Regions from separate parts of the Homo sapiens genome. Here region 1 is linked to region 2. The links are contacts of gene promoters, found by promoter capture Hi-C in human tissues and cell types (Jung and others, 2019). All regions are on one chromosome and are shown on one strand. Each heading gives the region's core, a stretch centred on a gene start or on the middle of the fragment in contact. The rest is flanking DNA. Distances are from core to core; before and after follow the strand shown.

Region 1 (5,739 bases), core at 1,413-3,912, 280 kb before region 2:
CACTTCCATTATGAGATATCAAACAAAGTAATACAGGGTGAAGGGCTTTATTTTGCCTACTCGGCTAGGGCAGGAATTAACCTATCTAACTTCAGTAACCTTCCCTGATTCATGTAAAGGGGTCCTCCTGGCTGTCCTCATCCCAGAGACTTGAAACACGAATTAACCTATTTTTCAAAAGGGTTATTTGCAATGACCTTCTTTAGAATTTTTTATTGGCCAGGCACGGTGGCTCACACCTGTAATCCCAGCACTTTGGGAGGCGGAGGCAGGTAAATTACTTTAGGTCAGGAGTTCCAGACCAGCCTGGCCAACACGGTGAAACACCATCTCTACTAAAAAAAAAAAAAAAATTAGCCGGGAGTGGTGGCACATGCCTGTAATTCCAGCTACTCGGGAGGCTGAGGCAGGAGAATCGCTTGAAACCAGGAGGAAGAGGTTGCAGTGAGCCAAGATCACGCCACTGCACAGCCTGAGCAACAGAGCAAGACTCTATCTCAAAAAACAAATACAGTATTCTTTATCTTAAGGTTTAATACCAGCACTTTGGGAGGGAGGATCACTTGAGCCCAGGAGTCCAAGACCAGCCTGGGCAACAGAGTGGGACCCCAATCAATACAAAAATTTTTTTAAAAATTTTTTTAATTAGCTGCGCTGGTGGCCTGTGTCTGTTGTCCCAGCTACTCTGGAGGCAGAGGCTTGAGCCCAGGAGGAGGTCCAGGCTGCAGTGAGCAGTGCTCAACTCACTGCACTCCAGCCTGGGAAACCCAGCGAGACCCTATTTCAAAAAATAAATACATAAAAATTGGCCAGGCACGGTGGCTCACGCTTGTAATCCCAGCACTTTGGGAGACCGAGGCGGGTGGATCACCTGAGGTTAGGAGTTCAAGGCCAGCCTGGCTAACATGGTGAAACCTTGTTTCTACCAAAAATACAAAAACTAGCTGGGCATGGTGGCACACACCTGTAATCCCAGCTACTCAGGAGGCTGAGGCAGGAGAATCGCTTCAACCTGGGAAGTGGAGGTTGCAGTGAGCCAAGATCGTGCCATTGCATTCCAGCCTGGGTAACAAAGTGAGATTGTCTCAAAATAAATAAATAAATATAAATAAATTAAATTAAATAGTCGGGCACAGTGGCTCATGCCTCTAGTCCCAGGCATCTGGGAGCCTCTGGTGGAAGGATGGCTTAAGCCAAGAAGTTCGAGGCTACAGTGAACTAGGAGCTCTCCACTGTACTCAAGCTTCAGCAACCAAGCTAGACTCTTGTCTCTTAAATGAAACAAACAAACAAATTTTACCTTAAGCTGATTCTAGCAATGCAGTCTTCCAACAGGAGGACATACACAGTTACCATTATCTAGCCAAATTTGATCGAATCCACAATCCACGCAGTTCCGCGGTTTCCGGTAAGAATCTACCACACCTCATCCCCTAAACTGGCTTCATTTCTAAACGGGCTTCATTCCTTTTTTTTTTAAGATGGGGTCTTGCTGTGTTGCCCAGGCTGGTCGCGAACTTCTGGCCTCAAGCGATTCTCCTGCCTCAGCCTCCAGAATAGTTGGCATTACAGGCGCGCGCCACCACGCCCGAAATTCATTTCTTTAATTTGGCGAAAAAGTAAGTGACTTCTAGAAGCCACTGGGTTTCTGGTTCCTCTATAAAGCAAATTCTTCCACTGAAGGACTTTTTCCTTCCACTGTTTGTTTTAAAAAGAACAAGAAAAGGAAGAGGTTGGAAGGAGCGAGGAGCTGAGTGTCCGAATGAAGCACTGGAGGGTTTTTTTTTTTTGCAAGCAATCAGTGATGCCCTGTAAGTCACTCTCCTCCGAGATTTGGGAGGTGCGTGAACTGCCATTCTACCATTCACCACTGGTTCTTTGGTCCACCGATCACAGATGTGAGCTGCACAGACATCGCAGCAAATTCGATGCCTTCCCGGTTTCCCGGAGCCGGGGTGTAGAGGGTGGGAGAGAGGGGTCGCTTCTTTTCCTTAATCTCATCTCTCCACCAAGAAAAACGTCGGGAGTTTCGTGCCCTGAAGCCGCCCAGGCTGATGTTTGAAAGTTAAATAATAACCTCCAGGTTTTTACAGAAACTCCGCCTGGCTCCGAAGCCCCCGTTCTGCCCAGCAGGGGTGCAGAGGTCTGAGGCAGGACGGTTTTGAAAAATGTACTTTGACCCGATCCGGTTACTGTAACCGGATCCCCAGGGAGCAGTCCCTGTTGGGGACCGGGGGAACAGGCTCCCCCGTGGCGGAGACTCCATGCACGGACACAAAGGGGGAGCAACGCAGCCCAGACAAAAGGGCCCAGCCAAGTCTCGGGGGGCGGAGAGGGCGAGCCTGCGCGGGCCCTGCCTCAGGCGGAGAAGCCCGGGTTGGACCGTTGTGGGAGGGCCGAGGAGGGAGGCGGCGGCCCCGCCCCGCCCTGGCCCGAAGCGACGGCGACCCGGGCCGTTACCTTCTGCCCGGACCGGGACCCTCTCGCAGAGCCAAGAAAGGGGCCGCAGCCTGAGAGGAGGCCGCAGCCTGATACTGAGCGCGTCCTGCTCACTTTCCCTTGCTCGCTGAACTTACCCAGATCTCCGCCGCCGCCTCCTCAGCCTCCACAGCAGCCTCTCCCGGAAATCCTACCTGGCCCGTTGGCCGCCAGGCAGCAGCCGGAGCCCTTGGCCCCCGGGGAGGGGGAAAAAGGGAGCCGGCTGGACAGTGTAGGGTAGGACGTGCCGCCGCGGAGGCTTACGGGACTTGTAGTCCCCAGCAGGGGCCGGTTGCCCGGCAAGCTGAACAAAATGGCGGGAAGCGTGCGTCCTTTCTCTCCGGGCGGTCGTCCTCCTTACGACCTCTCTGGGCATGCGCTGGCCGCTCTGCGCACCTTGTGTGTAAAAGAACTTGGGCACCTTTCCTGGTACTATGGGAGGCAAAGGTCTTTGGGCTTGGGAGGACAGGGTTCAATACTGGGCTCCAGGCAGTACCCAAAAAGGGAACTGATACAAGAGTGTTGTTTGAGAAAACTGTATCCCTGACTGGCCAAATTTCAATCATAACCTCCCCAAAGGAAAAACTATTTATTGAGGACCAATTTGAAGTGCAAAAAACGTACAAGCAAGTTATCTACCCTCAGTGTTGTGCGTAAGAAACCCAGGAATCATTCTGGACACTTCCCTCAAGCCATTAAGTCCAGTCATTCTACATCCCCAGTATTTTAATTCATTTCGATATCCTTCACTACTATCACCTAGTGAAAGCCACCATCACTTCTCTCCAAGTCTCAGTAGTTTCAGGCCCTAGGCTATCACCCTCCGAAAACCTTCCTTGCTGCTGCCAGAGGACCCTTCTAAATGCAAACCCATTGTATCACACAACCTAAATTAGACCTACATGTAAAACTTGAAGCTACGGCACATCTAGAGGACATTCCAGGAGAAAAATCGATGTGACTTTTCAAATACACTATCCATAAAATTAAAAAAATTGGCCAGGCGCGGTGGCGCATGCCTGTAATCCCAGCTACTCAGGAGGCTGAGGCAGGAGAATCGCTTGAACCCAGGAGGCGGAGGTTGCAGTGAGCCGAGATCTTGCCATTGCAGTCCAGCCTGGGCGACAGAGCAAGACTCCGTCGCAAAACAAACAAACAAACAAACAAACAAATTATCCGGGGCCTAGTGCCAAGCTCCTGTAGTCCCAGCTACGTGGGAGGCTGAGGTGAGATGATCACTTGAGCCTGGGGGGTCGAGATCGCACCAGTGCACTCCAGCCTGGGCAGCAGAGCAAGACCCTGTCTCAATAGAAAAAGAAAAAAGAAGAAAAAAAAATTGGCCGGGTGCAGTGGCTCACACCTCTCATCCCAGCACTTTGGGAGGCTAAGGCGGGAGGATCCCTTGAGCCCTGGAGTTTGAGACCAGCCTGCCAGCCTGGGCAACAGAGTGAGGCCCCATCTCTACAAAAACAATTTTAAAAATTAGCTGGGCATGATGGAACGTGCCTGTAGTCCCAGGTACTCAGGAGGCTGAAATAGGAGGATTATTTGAGCTGGGGAGGTCCAGGCTGCAATGAGCTGTGATGGTGTCGCTACACTCCAGCCTGGACGACAGAGGGAGACCTTGTCTCAAAAAAATATTTAAAATATATTTATTGGCCTGGCACGGTGGCTCACGCCTGTAATCCCAGCACTTTGTGAGGTTGAGGCTGGTAGATCACCTGAGGTCAGGAGTTCGAGACCAGCCTCTCCAAAATGGTGAAACCACATCTCTACTAAAAATACAAAAATTGGCCGGGCACGGTGGCTCACACTTGTAATCCCAGCACTTTGGGAGGCTGAGGCGGGCGGGTCACGAGGTCAGGATATCGAGACCATCCTGGCTAACGCAATGAAACCCTGTCTCTACTAAAAATACAAAAAATTAGCCGGGCGTGGTGGAGGGCGCGTGTAGTCCCAGCAACTCGGGAGGCTGAGGCAGGAGAATGGCGTGAACCCGGGAGGCAGAGCTTGCAGTGATCTGAGATCGCGCCACTGCACTCCAGCCTGGGCAACAGAGCGAGATCCCGTCTTAAAAAAAAAAAATACAAAAATTTATTGGGCGTGATGGCCCACCCCTGTAATCCCAGCTACTCAGGAGGGTGAGGCAGGAGAAGCGCTTGAACCCAGGAGGCGGAGGTTTCAGGGAGCCGAGATCGCACCATTGCACTCCAGCCTGGGTTACAAGAGGGAAACTCAGTCTCAAAAATAAAATTAAAAAATATATTTTTTTAAATTAATAGGCTACACATGATAACTCATGCCTGTAATTCCAGCACTCTGGAAGGCCAAGGCTGGAGGGCTGGTTGAGACCATGGGTTCAAGACCAGCCTGGGCAACACAGTGAGACTCCATCTCTAAAATATAAATAAATAAATTTTAAAAAGAAAAAAATTGCCGGGCGTGGTGGCTCACGCCTGTAATCCTAGCACTTTGGGAGGCCGAGGCAGGTGGATCACAAAGTCAGGAGATTGAGACCATCCTGGCTAACACGGTGAAACCCCATCTCTACTAAAAATACAAAAAATTAGCTGGGCGCGATGGCGGGCTCCTGTAGTCCCAGCTACTCGGGAGGCTGAGGCAGGAGAATGGCGTGAACCCGGGAGGCAGAGCTTGCAAGTGAGCCGAGATCTTGCCACTGCACTCCAGCCTGGGCAACAGAGCGAGACTCCGTCTCAAAAAAAAAAAAAAGAAAAGAAAAGAAAAGAAAAAAATTGAATAAATTGTATATCATCAAAATTTCAAACTTTAGTCAAGACTGTTATGAAAATAAAGATAAAACCGGGCGCGGTGGCTCACGCCTGTAATCCCAGCACTTTGGGAGTCCGAGGTGGGCAGATCACGAAGTCAGGAGATCGAGACCATCCTGGCTAACACAGTGAAACCCCGTCTCTACTAAAAATACAAAAAATTAGCCGGGCGTGGTGGTGGGCGCCTGTGGTCCCAGCTACTCGGGAGGCTGAGGCAGGAGGATGGTGTGAACCTGGGAGGCAGAGCTTGCAGTGAGCGGAGACTGTGCCACTGCACTCCAGCCTGGGCGACAGAGCGAGACTCCGTCTCAAAAAAAAAAAAAAAAAAAAGAAAAGAAAGATAAGCTGGCCAGGCTCAGTGACTCACCCATGTAATCCCCACACTTTCAGAGGCTGAAGCGAGTGGATCACCTGAGGTCAGGAGTTCAGGACCAGCCTGGCCAACATGGTGAAACCCCATCTCTATTAAAAT
Region 2 (6,048 bases), core at 2,020-4,519:
GCCTGGATTTTATTCTTAAATGACTGTAAAGACACTAGAGCACCAGCAAGGTACAGCTTCTGCTCTGGGGAGGAATTTGCATGCTTTCTTGTAGCTCTGTTTTAGAATCATAGCTGTCACATAATGATATTTTGGTAAATGATAGAATGCATATATGATGGTGGTCCCATAAGATTATTTAATATTTTTACTGTACCTTTTCTATGTTTTTATATGTTTAAATACACAAATACTTGCCATTGTGTTACAATTGCCTACAGTATTCAGTACAGTCATATGCTATACAGATTTATAGCCTAGGAGCAATAGGTTATACCATATAGCTTAGGTGTGTATAAGTCCATTTTACGATGTTCGCACAATGATGAAACTACCTAACGAGGGATTTCTCAGAACATATTCCTGTCCTTAAACAGAGTGTATATGTATGTAAATGCTTTAGGCATAACTTTTCTGGAGCTATTGCATTGATTACTCATGGGCTCCCTCTGGTGGAGGTGGTGGCTCAGTTTGCAGGGTTTCAGATCAGGAAAACCAAAGTAAATGAGCAATTTAGCCCTTCATTCAACAAACATTTACTGAGTGCCTACAGTGTGCCAGGCTCCATTCTGGTGCTGAAAAAACATCCGTGAACAAATCGGACAAACATCCATGGACTCATGGAACTTACATTCTGGCAGGGGGAGAGAGACACTAAGCCAAATTTACAAGCAACTTGTTGGATGGGAAAGTACAAAGAGGATGGTAGTGTTCCAATTTTTAATGTAGTGTCAGGGAAGATCTCATTGAGAAAGTGACATGTGAATAAAGATGTAAATGAGGTGAGCGGATGAATGATGCAGGTATCTGGGGGAAGAGCACTCCAGGCAGATGGATTAAAAAGCACAAAGGCCCTGGGCCTACCTGTAGTTTTGAGGAATGGCAGAGGCCAATGTGCTTTAAGGGGAAGGATGACAGAAGGAGTAGGAGTTGAGGTTAGAGCAGAGCTGTACTGGAGGTGTCAAATCTTGAGGGTCCTGTAGACCAATGTAAGGATTTTGGTTTTTACTCTGAAATAGGAATGCATTGGAGGAAGGATATGATCTAATTAGGGTTTTAACAGGAGCCCATTGCTACTATATTAATAGATTGTGGGGGCCGGGCGTGGAGGCTCACACCTGTAATCCCAGCACTTTGGGAGGCTGAGGCGGGTGGATCACTTGAGGCCAGGAGTTCAAGACCAGTCTGGCCAACATGGCAAAACCCCGTCTCTACTAAAAATATAACAATTAGCCGCGCGTGCTGGCGGGCCCCTGTAATCCCAGCTATTCAGGAGGCTGAGGCAGGAGAACCCAGGAGGCAGAGGTTGCACTGAGCCAAGATCAGGCCAGTACACTCCAGCCTGGGTGACAGAGGGAGGCTCTGTCTGAAAAAAAAAAAAAAAAAAAGATTGTGGGAAGGCAAGAGTATAAATAGGGCACTCACAGTCACTGACTGACTGGTTTATACCAACGGAGGCAGTAAATGGTCAGGTTCTGGACAGATTTTGAAGGCAAATCTTGCAGAACTTGCTGATGGAGTACATGTGGGATATGAGAGAGGAGTTAAGGATCTTAGTAAATGATGTTGCTTAGTACATTGTTGTCATCGGAAGAGGTGATCAAATATACAGTCAAAAAATGTAGAAAAAATAGTTTTTTTTCTGGATTTTGTTATTCGTGGTATTTGTGAGCTAATAAAAATGTTTGTAATTTTTCTCATTATAAAAGGTTCACTTTTATATCTAATATTGTATTTGTAATTTTGGATTTTTTTTTTTTTTAGACAGTCTCGCTCTGTTGCCCAGGCTGGAGTGCAGTGGCATAATCATAACTCACCGCAGCCTCTACCTCCTGGGCTCAGTTAGGTGCGTGCCACCACACCTGGCTAATTTTTCTGGGTTTTTTTTGTTGTTGTTTTGCTTTGTTTGTTTTGTAGAGACAGGGTCTAATTTTGTTGCCCAGGTGATCTCCAACTCCGGGGCTCAAGCAACCGGTCGACCTCGGCGTCCCAAAGTGCTAGGATTTCAGGCATGAGCCACTGTGCCTGGCCTTGATTATTTTAAAGAGGGCCCCCAAATTGAATAAACGTCAAGTCTCCACAAAGCCTGAATTCAACCTTGCTTCTAGCCCATACTTGGGTTGTAATTTAAAATTAACGAAACATTTAAGAATTTTGCTTCCGAAAACAGTGTGCACGAAGTGAATTGTAAGCCTAATATAATATTAAGAATAAACTAAATTTGGGGATAAAAAGATCACCTTGGGGCTCACGCCTGTAATCCCAGCACTTTGGGAGGCCAAGGGATCAACCGAGCTCCAGAGTTGGAGACCAGCCTGGGCAACATGGCGAAACCCCGTCTCTACCGAAAAATACAAAAATTAGCCGGGCGTGGTGGTGCGCGCCGGTAGTCTTAGCTACTCGGGAGGCTGAGGTGGGAGGATCACTTGAACCCAGGAGGCGGGGGTTGCAGTGAGCCGAGATCGCGCCACTGCACTCCAGCCTGGGCGACAGAGCAAGACTCTGTCTCAAAAAAAGAAAAAAAAAAAGGGATGGGCGCGGTGGCTCACGCCTGTAATCTCAGCACTTTGGGAGGCCCAGGCGGGCGGATCACCTGAGGTCGGGAGTTCAAGACCAGCCTGACCAACATGGAGAAACCCCGTCTCTACTAAAACTACAAAATTAGCCGGGCGTGGTGGCACATGCCTGTAATCCCAGCTACTCGAAAGGCTGAGGCAGGAGGATCGCTTGAACCCGGGAGGCGGAGGTTGCAGTGAGCCGAGATCGCGCCATTGCACTCCAGCCTGGGCAACAAGAGCGAAACTCCGTCTCAAAAAAAAAAAAAAAAAAAGATCACCTTGGGCTAGCCTCCCAAATGTCTTCCAAAACTTCCCACTCATTCTCCTTCCCAGTTTTTCTAAATCTACCAAATGCACCCAACACTTCTTACGTTCCTTTTAGCCAGGTAGGGATTACGCGCATTTTTAAAGACCTCCTTAAAAGTGAAGGCTGTAGTACCGTCAGGACTGCCTAGCGCTCACCCAGAAGCTGCTTGTCTCCGAGGCACTAAGAGGGGCGTGGCCATGGGCGTGGCTCGCCGGGCCGGCGGAGTGGGCGGAGCCTAAAAGCTTCCCCGCCCGGTCAGACTCAACACATGCGCCCAGAGGTTTCTAGTGGAACGAGGTGTGGATTGTGAGGTGACTCTGGCCGCTTACTTCCGGTTCCTAGCGATGCGCATCCGGGTCACGCTAACGCCGCGGTTTCCTCCGCTCGATTGGTTCTACTGTGGGTCTGGACTGATCTCCATGTCCTGTTGTGGGGCTTTTACAGCCTTTGGGTGAGTCTCAGCTGCCAACAGGGTCTGAGCGCAGCCGGGCGAGCACAGCGTGAAGGGGGATGGGTCTAGAGTTCTGCCTCGGTCCTTGTGGGTGGGAGTCTCTTCGCCTGTCCCTTGTCACTGCAGTGCTTCACTCACCTCAGCCCTTTCCTTCACGCTGGCCTCGCCTTATTCACCTCAGCTTAGCCTTCTCGCGCTTCCGTGCCTCTGTCGCCTCGCTGTTTTTCCTCAGCCTCATCAGTCCTTTTCCAACCTCGGTTTCTTGCCTTACGCCTCAGCGCTTCTCTCAGCCACTGCCTCTCCTTTTTTCTCCTCCTCCCTTCTTTTAGAACCTCTTTTCCCCTACCCCTGATCTGGGATCTCAGCGTTCTTTCACCTAGCGAGACGGCCCAGCTTCTCATTGTGCTCACTCTTCACCACGAGAAACTGAGCCTCTCCCTAGGGTCCTAGTTCCTTGTCCCCCAACTTTCTTCAGCTTTGATCCTTCCTCCTGGGACCAGTAGGTGACAGTGCTTCTCCTGGGGTTCTTCTGCCTGTCCTTAGCTAGAGGAGAGCTTTGCCAAAGCCCCGAAATGGGAAGACTTCCCCAGCCTGGGGGAAGTTTTGCCTTAAGGCGCCGGGTTAGACTGAACTCTGGTAGCTTCCATAGTTAGGGTACAACAAAGGCGTTCCTAGTTCTTCGCTTTACCTCAGTTTTGGGGCTCTCTCAAGAGCAGCTAACAGGTGGCAGGCACACGGTACTGCTAGCAGTTGGGCTGGCGCGATCTTGTTAATTGACAAGTCATGAAGAAGTTCTGTCAGTTTTGTGTTCCCATGAGAATGGATGTGCACAGCTGAGGCAAAAACGCCAATATTTTGGGACGTTCAGCTCTGTTTTCGGCATGGACGCTTCTTACAGGACACTTGTGATGATAGAGGACAGAATTTGTGGAGAGATCATTAGCCCCAGATTTATGAATTTATTGTGTTGTTTCCGAAAAGTGGTCTGCTGAAGAGTTCACTATAGTAATTTCAAAGTAATCTTTAAACTTAGTATGCACATATGCATTTTTTCATTTTTACTGTATTAAGTTTTCTATTTGTCTTCCTCTTCCTTCATTAGCCAGACTTTACTTAGAATTACATTACTTAGAAGTACATTACTTAGAATATTCTTCTAACTTTTGTATTTTTTTTTCCTTACCATTTCCACCTTTGTAGTAAAACTATCATTTTCTCATTTTGAGATTTAGGGCACCTTTCTTAAATTTCCCTAGAGGTTTAAAGTCATTTATAACATGAAGGAATTGCATTTAATAATGGTTAGTGCTCCCTTTCCCAAATTTTGTGATCTAGAGTATAGGCTTGGGTAATCTTTATTTTTTCCCGATGTTTATAGTGTATATCTAGCACTTGATTGCAGCGGTTTTTGTGTCATCAGTTTCTGTAATCTATAAATTGTGCTTTAAAATGTAGTACTTCAGTATGAACTTAAATACAGCTTTGAGCACCTGCTTATCTTTTGGCTAATTAGCTATAGAAAAATCTTCATTATATGATACATATACATATAAGAGTGTATAGTCCTTGGCTTATTCCAAAATTGGGCTCTCTTCAGCTGTTTTTAGCAAAGGACTTTGGAGCTTGGCCATGTTAGTCCTAGAAGCCACGGAGAAGGACCCTTCTGATTGGCTTTCAGGACTTATCTAACTGCTAAGTGAAGCCTCTTTGAAAGTTTCTTATGTGTACCTCCTCCCCACTACCTAGCTCTAGCTTCTGTCCAACCTGGCCTATTTTCCATCCTTCAAAACAAACCCCAATGTGTATGGCTTACTCCAGCTGCTTCCTTACCTTCAGGTTTGTGGGCTTCATTTAAGCCATGGGAATGCCAGCTTAATTAATGCAGATTAAGATAAGAACATTAAACCCCAAAAATGATGGGAAATCACTCTGTCTTCAAAACAATAGAAAATAATAAAATCTAGTTATAAAGATTATATACCATTGTCACTAGTAAGAAGTGGCACTCTTATTTACAAAACATAAAGAAATTAGGGTTTAGGTCTGGCATGGTGGTTCACACCTATAATCCCCAGCACTTTGGAAGGCCAAGGCCAGAGGATTGGCCAGGAGTTCGAGACCAACCTGGGCAACATAGACAAAATTAGCTTGGTGTAGTGGTGTGCGCCTGTAGTCCCAACTACTCAGGAGGTTGAGGTTGGAGGATTGCTTGAGCCCAAGATTTTGAGGTTACAGTGAGCTGTGATCACATCACTGCGCTCCACAAGGCAACAGAGTGAGACTCTCTTAAAAAAAAAAAAGAAATTACAACTTAAACAGTTAATTTCCAAGGTCATTTTTTTTTAAGTCAAGAAGTCCTATACATGCTCTCAAGAGTAGCGAGTGTTAATTCCATTAAAGCTGTAGGCTGGAAAGCACAATATAGTATTTAGTGGGTCATTTCAGTATATGTCATATATGAATGAGACTATTAGGATAAGAAATCTGTGACATGGATTTTAAAATCCAAAGCCGAAGTCATTTTGCCTTCAAAGAGTGACTAGAGAAAGAAACTGTTTTGTGCAGAAGTAGAAGTTGAAAAGTTTTAGGAGTCTTTTGTTCTTCTAAAATGACTTTGGCCTGTATATTCTGCATTGAAGCCATTAAATGAAATGAGCATCCTGTGTAGTCATTGGAGCAGTTGTGTTCCATGC

Evidence for each region. The method cuts DNA at HindIII sites, captures the fragments that hold promoters and counts their contacts. A contact is called where the count stands out against the background at its distance.
Region 1: the fragment with the promoter of PHACTR4 here is called in contact with the fragment with the promoter of EYA3 in region 2 in 1 of the 25 tissues and cell types used here (hippocampus).

Annotation. Positions count from the first base shown.
Region 1 is chr1:28,366,663-28,372,401 of GRCh38, reverse strand. PHACTR4 (phosphatase and actin regulator 4) reads right to left here and starts at 2,662. Exons shown (of 14, transcript NM_001048183.3): 1 at 2,577-2,662. RefSeq lists a silencer at 2,289-2,508 and enhancers at 2,590-2,884, 2,535-3,490. The HindIII fragment of the contact is 16,246 bases long and covers 1-5,739 here.
Region 2 is chr1:28,085,831-28,091,878 of GRCh38, reverse strand. EYA3 (EYA transcriptional coactivator and phosphatase 3) reads left to right here and starts at 3,269. Exons shown (of 18, transcript NM_001990.4): 1 at 3,269-3,355. RefSeq lists enhancers at 3,330-3,399, 3,610-3,669. The HindIII fragment of the contact is 16,525 bases long and covers 1-6,048 here.